Linked DNA regions of Homo sapiens: regions 2 and 3 are each linked to region 1. The links are contacts of gene promoters, found by promoter capture Hi-C in blood cells and fetal thymus (Javierre and others, 2016). All regions are on one chromosome and are shown on one strand. The core of a region is centred on a gene start or on the middle of the fragment in contact, and the rest is flanking DNA. Distances in the headings are between cores, read along the strand shown.

The links. Contacts are between HindIII fragments. The CHiCAGO score rates a contact against its expected background, and 5 or more counts as called.
Region 2: a fragment that was not itself captured here is called in contact with the fragment with the promoter of BARHL2 in region 1 in 1 of 17 cell types (erythroblasts); the score reaches 5.0 in erythroblasts.
Region 3: a contact is called between a fragment that was not itself captured here and the fragment with the promoter of BARHL2 in region 1, in 1 of 17 cell types (erythroblasts). The highest score is 5.1, in erythroblasts.

The regions. Positions count from the first base shown.
Region 1 is chr1:90,715,966-90,719,639 of GRCh38, forward strand. BARHL2 (BarH like homeobox 2) reads right to left here and starts at 1,337. Exons shown (of 3, transcript NM_020063.2): 1 at 606-1,337. The coding sequence starts at 1,230. The HindIII fragment of the contact is 6,796 bases long and covers 1-3,674 here.
Region 2 is chr1:90,926,592-90,930,411 of GRCh38, forward strand. The region is part of intron 4 of ZNF644 (zinc finger protein 644); the gene reads right to left. Among named protein-coding and RNA genes, the nearest start is that of LINC01763, 77 kb to the left of the region's middle. RefSeq lists enhancers at 199-811, 913-1,519, 1,520-2,125. The HindIII fragment of the contact is 3,136 bases long and covers 1-3,030 here.
Region 3 is chr1:90,942,688-90,946,535 of GRCh38, forward strand. The region is part of intron 2 of ZNF644 (zinc finger protein 644); the gene reads right to left. Among named protein-coding and RNA genes, the nearest start is that of ZNF644, 77 kb to the right of the region's middle. The HindIII fragment of the contact is 1,066 bases long and covers 1,908-2,973 here.

The sequences.
Region 1 (3,674 bases), core at 87-2,586:
TAGGGTAAGAAGGGTGCTTTTAAGAAACTTATTACAAATTTTTACGGGCTAACCACAATCTAATTTTTTTAAAGTTGCTCTGTTCATGAACTCAGAAATTTTTCCTCCATTAAAACCGATAATTCCTGTGATGATGTTAAGAAAATAAAGTGGGGGGGGGGTGAAATCACTTGTACTAAAGAATAAACACCAGGTTGTGATCACACCCACGCTAGCTAAGTGGTTTCTCTCTCCTACCTCCCCCCATTCCCATTCCCAAAGTCTAGGCTAGAAAAACCCCAAGTCCATCCCTTTTATCAACGAAAAGTATTTCCTGTCGGATGCCCTCCGCCGCCCCTCAACCCCCAGTAGATTAAAATTAAATAAAACAAAGGAAGGAGCTGGATGGCCGTGAAGGTTGTGGGGTAGAACAATAAACAGAACTTCGAGGAGTCCCCACATCGCACGCCCAGGCCTCCCTTCAGCTGCAGTCTTTTGACCGTCGCCCAGTCGCCCGAGAAGCTCCTGGAATCGCTCCCCAGCAGAGATCTGCTGAAGGCTGAAGGGGAGATTGGGAACCAGGAGGACAAGCTAGACGGCCGAGAGCGCCGGGTGGCGGGACTCACCGTGGCATTTGATGTCGCTCTGGGAATCCTCCCGCTTGTCGAGTTTGGTCTTGCTGTCCTCCTGCTCGAGCTTTGGCCTGAAGCTCTCGTGCACTGCGTTGCTCTCCTGCTTCGGGGTGTGGTGGGGAGAGGATACGCTGGTGCTGTAGGGTGCACATGCCGCCAGAGGTTTGCTGTCGCCCAAGATGTCCTTAATTAAAAAAGAAGACGTGGAAGTCCTGGGGGCCGAGGCGGCCGAGCCCAGCTGCTGGGGGGGCGGCGGCGGCGGCTGCTGTGGCGGCAGCGGCTGCTGCTGTTGGGGCAAAGGCTGCAAACTTTGCGTCGGGGCCGCGGCCGGCGGCGGCGGCTGCTGGCTGTGGTGGAGGTGGTGATGATGCTGGGTCGCGTCTGCTACCAGATGCGGCTCCGGGGGCTCCATGGTGACTGAGATAGGAGAAGAAGGCGCCGTCCCTACGGTATCAATCTCCGAACAGGGAGATGGGGTGGCCTGACTCCTAAAATCCGCGGTCCTGGCCTCACCGAGCGGGCGGAAATCTCCATTCATCATGCCTGGGCTGCCTGAACTGGCACTGGACAAAATCGTGTCTATTCCAAAACTCGACCCGCTGGCCCCTTCCATTGTCATTGCTACATGAGGTCCACGCCACTCCGCCGTTCAGCAGCCGCCCCGAACCAGCGAAGAAAGCTATCGATCGTAAAACAAAATAAACACCAAACAATGTTGCCGCCGCTTAAAAAAAAAAAAGTGGGGCGGGGAGAGAAGGAAGGGTAATTGGGAAGTGGCAATCTGTGGATACTTTCGACACAACTTTTTTTCTTTTATGCAAAAAGTAGGGGTGGAAAGAAAAAAGATGCGGGGGGCGGGGGGAGTTAAAAAAATTTCTGAGAAAACTCGGAACTTGCGCTCCAGGAACGACTGCGCACGTGGCGCGGCGGTGGCGGCGCGGAGGACCCAGGCGAAGGCGAAGGCGAAGGCGAAGGCGCAGGCGAAGGCGAAGGCGCAGGCGGCGGGAAGCTACGCCAAAGCCGCCGCCGCCGCCGCTGCCGGGGTCTGCCCACAGCCTGGCACCGGGCGGCAGCGGTGGCGGCGGCGGACGCGGCAGGTGCAGCGACCGCGAAGCCCGGGCGGCCGCGCGCCCTCGGAACTCCCCCGCGGCTCCCGAGGTGGCAGCCGCGCGCCACTCGGCAGCCCCGTAGCCGAGTTTCTGAACTTTCTTGGAAAGTTGCGGGGCAGACACGGCCGCAGCGGTTGCGGCAACCCGAGGAGGAGGAGGAAGAGGAGGACGACGAGAAGGAGCAGGCACAGAAGGAGGAAGCGGCGGAGACGCGATGCCGGGCGACTCCGGCCGCTGCCGGGCGCGTTCGCTTGTAATCCGGCTGCTGGCGGGCGGCGCCGACCCCCTCCCGTGACGTCACGGCCACTACCGCCGCTCCCCGCGCCGCGCCGCGCCGGGCCCGCGCCCCCGCCACCGAGGCCGCGCGTCCGGCCCCGCGCCCCTATTGGCCGCGCCCGCGCGAGCGAGGGACGCCGACGTGCCAGGGAGCCAATAGGCGCAGCGCTCGTGAGCCCGTCAGCGGACTCGGCTCGGACTCCGCTGCTCTTTTGAGAACCCGCACATCCCTGAGCCCGCAGCCCTGAGCCGAACTCCGAGTCCAGTGGTCCCGGTGTCCACAATCACGAGTGCGAGGCAAAGGGAGAGGGAGGAAGAGATCAGAGGGAGACCAGAGAAAGGGAACCAAAGGGGAGAAAGAAAAAAAAAAGTAGCAAGGATTCGCCCGTTTTCTTAAGTCAGAAGAGAGAGAGAAGAGGACGGGAAGGGACTTACCTTTAGGCTCCAGCGCGGCGGCCCTCGCAGCCTCCCCAAACGCGCGCGGGAATAGTCCGAAGACATTAAGAGCGGAGGAAGGAGATCCCTGAAGGAATCCACAGAAAAGTGTGTCACTTCAGGCGCCGGAGCCTTGCATAAGCGGGCGGGTCGGCTCTGGGCTCTGATTTCTCGCCCGACGAACCCAGGCGCTCGGGCTCAGCCCGGCGGGAGGCGGATCCCTGAGAGGGACACAGCCGGGTCCGCGTCCACCAGGCGCTCTCGGGGAGGACGAGGCCTGAGGCTCCAAGCTGGGGAACCAGCCTGGTCTCCAGCTGGAAAAAATGCCTGGCCAGACGCTTTCTCCCGAACGGGGGAGCTAATGCCCGAGGCGTTCTCTGGTGGCGAGGGCAGCCACGGTTCACTGCGGTGTCGGGCGGGCGCGGGGCTCAGGACCCATAGCGGCTGGTCTGCAGCCCGCGCCCCTGCCGCGCCCCGCGGCAGTCCGTCCACCTCTGTCCCCCGGCCCCTTTCGGCGAGCGCTCATTTGGAAAGGAAACAGTCACTGCGGATCCACTTGGGACCCGGAGCATGACTGTAACGCCTCGTTGGAGTGTATCAACTTGCATTATTTTCTCTAGGACGTCTCCAACCTGTCTCATGTTGAATGTCAGAGTAATGGGAAGTGCCAGTGACAAGACGGCGTATTACTCCTGATTAAGTGCCGTGTCAACCTAATTAGCAGAGTAATTATAAGGTGCTAATGAATGATTCAAAGTTCTTTGAGTTACATTTTACTCCAAATTACCATTTTAAGAACCCTATGAATCTGCGAGGCGGGCATCGCTTCCGTGGCTAGGTCTGGAATGATGTTCGAGTGGCCTTTAATGTCTCCAAAGGCTGGGCCGAAATCTGGAGTTTAGTTGCAGTTCTGGAGGTCACTTTCTGGGCCACAGCTTTTATCTGTTGAGGACGAAGGGAGGGGTGTCAGGGAGGCAAATGACCTCCTGGGACAAGCTCTTGCCTTTCGGTCGGAACTGCTTCTGTGTGAGCCCTGGGTCCGGAAGCGGGTAGCTGGGCGACTCATCCTGCCTGCGTTTTCCTAGGGAAATCGGTGTGTTTGACCCAGAAAAAAAAAAAAAAAAAAAAAAAAAAACAGCACTACTTGGAGGGTGGGTTGAGCTGTTTCTCATCGTCTCAGTGGCATTTTTCCTAGGGCTGTTCCGAGAGAACAGCGGGGATTGAAGGGACGGAGGCAAGGAGA
Region 2 (3,820 bases), core at 213-2,712, 210 kb after region 1:
TGACAGAGAAGTAATGAAGCCTGCCCTTCTACCAGACAGCATGGTAGCAGATTGATTAACTGTACTGGTATAACCATCCTCCTCCCACTCAGATTTAAAATCTTGAGTCATCTCTTAACTCTAATCTACCATATCCTGCTTATTTTATTTCCATAATATTACCCATACATCTAGTACCCCTCCTTTACATTCTTAATGTCACTGACCTGGTACAGGACTCTTAAAATGATCTACCCTGCAATTTTTCCTCCTCTCTGCCAAATCCTTTATTTAAAAAGCAATTTCAAAAGCATTACACAAATTCTGCATTCAAATAGTTCCCCACTACAAAGTTAATTCCAACATCTTAGACTAGCGTTCTATGTCATCTATCTGACTCACTTTACCAGTCCAACTCAATTCCCTTACCTCCTACTTCCTAGTATTTCCTATAAACTTCCCACATTGTTCCACCTTGCTCCCTCTTTCAGGCATTTCTCTTCCCCACCCCGACCCCCATTTCCATTTCAGTTAGCTATACATCAGGGTCCATTCAAATGCTAATTCCAAAAGCCTTGGGAGTTCCTAGTCTAGCTGAAAGTGTCTTCCTCTTTCTCTGAAATTCCACAGTATTTCACGCATACCTCTCCAATGGCACTTAACAATTTGTCTTGTATTACAGTTATGCATATATGTGCTTCTACTGTATTGTAAGATCCAATGTATCTCTGCATACTTAGCACAGTTGGAGGTGAAAAAAGTGCTTGTTGAATTAGTGAAAAAATCAGCCGATCATTTTTTTGTATGGTGGAGAAATAGCCTAATTCTTGCTGGAATAATAAAACAATTAGTAGAGTATCTATAAGGGTTACCCAAAATACTCGATTAAATTATATCCAAGCTACTCAAGGCAAAAATAAGAACAACATTTTGGAGCAATAACCACCAAAATGGTTAGGAAAAATCAAGTTATTAACAGTTAAAGGACTATTCTTCAGTCACCTAGAGAATTTACTCAACTCAGATAATTCGTTACCTTGCTAATCACTTATAAATGATACGTTACTGTGCAGATAAATGTATACACATATATGCTCTTAATGAAGAACAATACTATAGAAATAAGTTATAGCTAAGAAATATAAAGACCCATCTTTTCTCTGTCTCATGAAAGGCTTTTTAAAATATAAGTTTAACCATACCATTCCCTTATTTTTCTTCTCTCTCTCTCTGCCCTCCCTCTCTTCCTCCCTCCTTCACTTCCTTCTTTCCTTCCTTCCTTCCTTCTTTGGAGATGGAGTCTTGCTCTGTTGCCCAGGCTGGAGTGCAACAGCATGATCTCAGCTCACTGCAATCTCCACCTCTCAGGTTTAAGCGATTCTCCTGCCTCAGCCTCCTGAGTAGCTGGGATTACAGGCGCCCACCACCACGCCTGGCTACTTTTTCGTATTTTTTAGTAGAGACGGAGTTTCACCATGTTGGCCAGGCTGGTCTCAAACTCCTGACCTCAGGTGATCCGCCTGCCTCGGCCTCCCAAAGTGCTTGGGATTACAGGTGTTAGCCACGGCACCTGGCCTATTTTCCTTTTGTATTTATTTATGAGACGGAGTCTCACTCTGTCGCCCAGGCTGGAGTGCAGTGGCGCAATCTTGGCTCACTGCAACCTGCACCTCCCAGGTTCAAGCAATTCTCCTGCCTCAGCCTCCTGAGTAGCTCAGATTACAGGCGCGCACCACCACACTGGGCTGATTTTTTTTTTTTTTTTTTGAGGAGTTTTGCTCTTGTTGCCCAGGCTGGAATGCAATGGCACAATCTCGGCTCACTGCAACCTCCAGCTTCTGGGTTCATGCAATCCTCCTGCCTCAGCCTCCTGAATAGCTGGGATTACAGGCGCATACCACCACGCCTGGCTAGTTCTTTGTATTTTTTTTTAGTAGAGGCAGGGTTTCACCATGTTGACCATGATGGTCTCACGCTCCTGACCTCAGGTGATGTGCCTGCCTCAGCCTCCCAAAGTAATGGGATTACAAGTGTGAGCCACCACGCCCGGCCTCCTTATTTTTAAAACATCCTTTAATGACTTCCTAATTTTTTTTACCAAGCATTCAAAGCACCAACCCCACCTTTCTGGCACTACAATTTTACCAAACATCTGTAACCAAATCTTCTGACACTTGAACTCCAAGTTCCACTCCTGACACTTGAAGTCCAAATTTCATCCCTTTGTGTCCACACTATGTTCTTCTCTGCCTGAAATATTCTACACTTCATCTCGTCTTCCTAAAACTCTACTGCATCCTTCAACTTCAGGGTCTGGCTGAAACCATATAAACCCTTCTGTAATGGCATACTTGATCTTTTCCCACTGGGTTATATTATGTTTATGCAGCTGGAGTGCAGTATCTTTACTGGCTCAGCGATGAACAGTCTTGGTACAAGAACTCAAACTTTTGTTGAATGAATAAAATTTTGTATGGCTGCTGGTTTTGTTGTTCTCTTGCATTTAAAAAGTCACAAGAAGCATACCAGCATGAACTACTTTTATTTATTTATTTTTTCTGTTTTTTACAAGCTCTAATTCAATGAGACAAACAGTAAGGGCATCAGAAAAAAAAGGAATCTCAATTCCCAGCTGCCCTCAAAAGGAGGCTTAGACTAAAATAATCAACCTGAACTCCTACAACACTTAAAGCCAATATGCCATTTAGTTGTATACTATCTTGCATAGTTTTCAATTTTTGATAGTTTTATGTATGTTGTCAACAATCCTTTCCTAATTTCTCTGACAGCAGAGACATGTCTCATACTTTTCACATACCCTCCTCAGCCCAGTCTGGAAGAATTGTCAAGGAGTTTGCTTTAAGCAGAAGCAAGTTTGCTCATTTGGAGTTTAATCTTAATAAGAAGATCAAAATTTTCTACTTACACTCTTTCAGTCTGAATGAACCACTATGAAAACATGCAATTTTTCAAACATGCAATACTATATTATTTTTAAAAGACACTACAGTGACACTCATGAATGAACAAATAATTTAATGCACATTGGGAAGCTTTCACAATACTATTTTTTCTATCACATCAGAAAGTGCTCCCATAGCACTTTCCACAACATAAGAATGACTTTTCTAGTGGCTTACAAACCCATTCAGCACTTGATACTGTGCTATATGTTCATTAGTACTTGTTACAGTCCTGTGTGGCCAATTATATCATTAAAGCTGAAAACAGGCAAAAGAAACCTACTACGATTACACTTAAAAGTAAATGGTATGAAAAATAAAACACTGACTTGATTTTTTAAAAACGTTAATATATTGCACTAGTGGTATTGACCTCATCAGAAAAGTCAAATAATTATGATGGATAAGTCATTTGTTGTAGAATAGCAACAATTGGGCTTTACTTCCAAAACGTATCAAGAAAGTGTTCTGGGCTGGGTGCAGTGGCTCACGCCTGTAATCCCAGCACTTTGGGAAGCCCAGGCGGGTGGATCACCTAAAGTCAGGAGTTCGAGACCAGCCTGACCAACATGGAGAAACCCCATCTCTACTAAAAATACAAAATTAGCCGGGCGTGATGGCGTGTGCCTGTAATCCCAGCTACTCAGGAGGCTGAGCCAGGAGAATCACTTGAACCTGGGAGGCAGAGGTTGCAGTGAGCCGAGACTGCACCATTGCACTCCAGCCTGGGCAACTAGAGTGAAACTCCGTCTCACACACACACACACAAAATTGTTCTGAAGATAATGAAATGAAGCCCCTCCCAAATATAAAAATATTTTTCTTGCATTAATTTTAAATGAGTAACTAGAAATTTCCAATTACTTTAAGTCCCAGAG
Region 3 (3,848 bases), core at 1,191-3,690, 230 kb after region 1:
CATCAGGTTCTGATTTATTAACTCAGTAATTATAATAAGGTCCTCAAAATATCCAGTAATTTTCATGTACAATTTAAAGAACCTGCTATTTGGCAACCCCAGGTATTAACTAATTGAAGTACTGGCATCATAAGCTTCCATATTTCTTCTCCTTTTTTGCAGTTATTCTCCAAATATTTCCTAAGCACTTAGTAGTGCCATGCATTGTTCCTGTATTCCAGATATAATGGTAAACAAGACAAGTTAGGTTCCTGCTCTCAGATAAAGAATGAAGCCTGTATATTTTTCTTTTGCAGTATTTTTAATTTGCATAACAAGTAATACTATTTTAGGGCAACAGGACCTTACAATCTAACATTTAGAAATCAAAACATGTTCAATATAGTTCAATATTTCTACTATCCTTTAAGGGTACCAATTTCATGCTTTGTAAAACATTAAATCTAATTCAAGAATAATAAAATTGTTCTTAGGCTGGGCGCGGTGGCTCACTCCTGTAATCCCAGCACTTTGGGAGGCCGAGGCGGGTGGATTACAAGATCAGGAGATTGACACCATCCTGGCTAACATGGTGATACCCCGTCTCTACTAAAAATAAAAAAAATTAGCCAGGCGTGGTGGTGGGTGCCTGTAGTCCCAGCTACTCGAGAGGCTGAGGCAGGAGAATGGCGTGTACCCGGGAGACAGAGCTTGCAGTGAGCCAAGATTGCGCCATTGCACTCCAGCCTGTGCAACAGAGTGAGACTCCGTCTCAAAAAATAAAAAACAATAAAATAATAAAATTGTTCTTATATTTTTCTTATTTTATAACTTAGAACAAGCACTTATAATCTGATCTTATTCTTTCCATAAAATGTTATTTAATACAACAAATACCTATTACCAGTATCTTTGACATTGTTTTTTATACCAACAATCATTTTTTCCACCCCTCGTAGGTTTTAGAATTCTGTTTTGAGATTGGCAAACTTCTGTGGTAATAAAAATAGACTTCCAATAAGATCACATTTAATGATATCACTCCAAAATGGTGCTAATGCATCACCCAGCAGGAGTCTCTACATCACATACACAGAAGTTAAAAATGGGCAGCACATAAACATGTGTTAGGAAAGGGTGTGCAAATGTCAAGGGAAAGAAAAGCAAGCCTTAATGCTACACTACCATTCATTCCTGATATTTCTCATTAAATTAGGTAGAAAACATAAAACGCTTCAATAGCAACAATCTCATAAATCTGAAACGAACGACAAAAAACTAGCTTGAAAGACAGTTACTTTCCTTTCCGTTCCCACTTATTATAATCACAGAGGTGGACAAATATATGCTAAGTCAATTTGAAAGCCTATATTAGTTTTTCTCAACAGGAAGCAATGTTGCTAACGAAGTGGTAAATTCAGTGTTAATGAGTGGCTTCACTGTTACCACCTCAGAGGTAAAACCTTCCATGTTCTATGTTCCACCCATCTGTTCTGGTGTTAGAGGTTTAGAGATGGAACAGACGCTTCCCATTTAAAGCAACTTCATTGGTACCCCCTGAACAGCAGGGTGACAAACTATGAGAACATCATGTCAGCTTGGAGACTGCATCCTCATTACCGGAATGGCTTTATAAGAGCTTTTCATAAGGTCACATTCTGAAGATATCAACCTGTTTTGTTCAAAAACATAGAAAAAATATATGTGCATAACAGATATTTTATCTACAAAACACATCTAGCAAAAAAAAATCCGATTAAATATTGTTAAAATATAAAATGAAGTCTTTAACAATGAAAGTTTTCCTTCACATCCACATAATAAAATATGGCTTACTTACCCCTAAATTATTAATTATCTCTACTCAAAAATAAAAGATGTTACCTTCTGCATCAGTTTGAAAATATGTTACAAAAGTTGACTTAGGAAGCTTTCTAGGTCACTCGGTAATTCTGATTAGATACAACCTTCCTGTCATCAAATCTATACTGTCCATTTTCTGTTCATGAGTAATTCTTTACTGAGAGAAAATTAGCTTAATTTTGTTCTTTTATGTACATTATTAACTGCATTTACTACAAGTAGATTAACGTTTTGTGGGTACTTATTTTAGGAACAATTAAAATGTTCAGAATATATTCTAATTATACAATGCTCCAAATATACTTCTTCTTAGTAACAGTACTCAAGACTCATAGCTGTTGTGCTGAGATACAATGCAGAACCATGGATCATCAAAATCTGTTGCACTGAATAATTGATACAGAATTTTAACATCATCAAAAATTATTTTACTACATTCATGTTGGGTTATGTGGCATCTAGGCAAGAAAGCATTTGACTTGAGTTAATTTTACACCATCTCAAATAGTTTTTCAACTACCTTTGTATAGTCAAATGTATATATAACAGAGACATCAATACCAGTTTAGGTTACTATAACAAAGTAGGAACGTATTTGAAGGTGGGCATTATTCATTAAGTTTAAAAAACAGAAGCTAATAAATTAAGATAAATAAACTGATGTTTGGACTCCTTATATATCAATTAAGATTTTTAAACACTGTTTAGACACCATTACTAAATCTTCCCCATATAATCATATAACCATAGAATTTTTCTTTTAACTGGTTTTTAAAAGTCTAAAAAATTCACACACCTTTTTAAAAAGCTGCAAACAGAACTTTAAATCTACATAAAATATATTTCAATTTCTAGAAAATCATAATGAGTTCTACAGCTATAACTGCCTCTAGTTATATACTGTGAGCACTAAAAAAATTGTACAAAGGTCAGATCTGTCTTCAAGATGACAGATCATCACTTATATGCCTCAAGCTAGACTTATTGTCTCAGAAATCTCAAACATCAGTATTTTTGCAAACTATCAGCACTTGCTATAACACCCTCACTACACTACATCTTGAGGTTACTACAGAAGAAATGAGGTGATAATTGCATATTAACATAATTATTCTGTAATCCCTCTGAGCAAGCTTCCTAGGTCACTCAGTAATTCAGATTAGATACAACCTTTCTGTCATCAAATCTATGCTGTCCACTTTCTGTTCACGAATAATTCTTTTCTGATAGAAAATTAGCTTAATTTCATTCTTTTATGTACATTATTAATTGTATTTATTGCAAGTAGGTTAACATTTTGTGGGTACTTAACTACATAATGCCAACCTTTGTTGTGTTGTATAATTTCATGCAAAATATAGTACAATTTGCCCTCATTGTATATTAGTTCATTAATTGCTATATTACACAGCTATAAATAAATTATAATGCTGCCCACTAGCTGAATTATAGTTAGGATCTGTCAGGTTTTCACAAACCCTATGTTCATTTAAATTATCCTTGTGAACACATGACAACTTCAGTTAGTAATGTATGAGATTGGGTCAAGAAGAGAAAACAATTCACAAGTGTCAGTCTAACTGTAAAACAGATCTTAATTAACTGAAATATTATATTTAAAATTATTGTGGCATTTAAACCTATATATACCATACACAATGTACAAACATATATACCTAAATCTCACCTAGTGCACACTTCAAGAGAAGACAGAATGTATCATCCAGGTAATAACTTATTCTGGATGTCACATTGAGAAGAAACACTAAAAAAATACAGAACACTTGTAAGGGTGTCCAGCATGAGACTGACTTTAAAACCAAGCCAAATAATAAAATGGTTCAGAAGGTTAGACTGCTTACTTGTCAAGAACATTACAGACAGGAATATGGAGTTGAGGATTGAATAAGATGATTTCTAAGGTCCCTTCTAATATGTACTACAAATGTTTAGTACTTAGTTATTACATAATTAACATTTAACATTATTTGAAATAATGAGCAAAA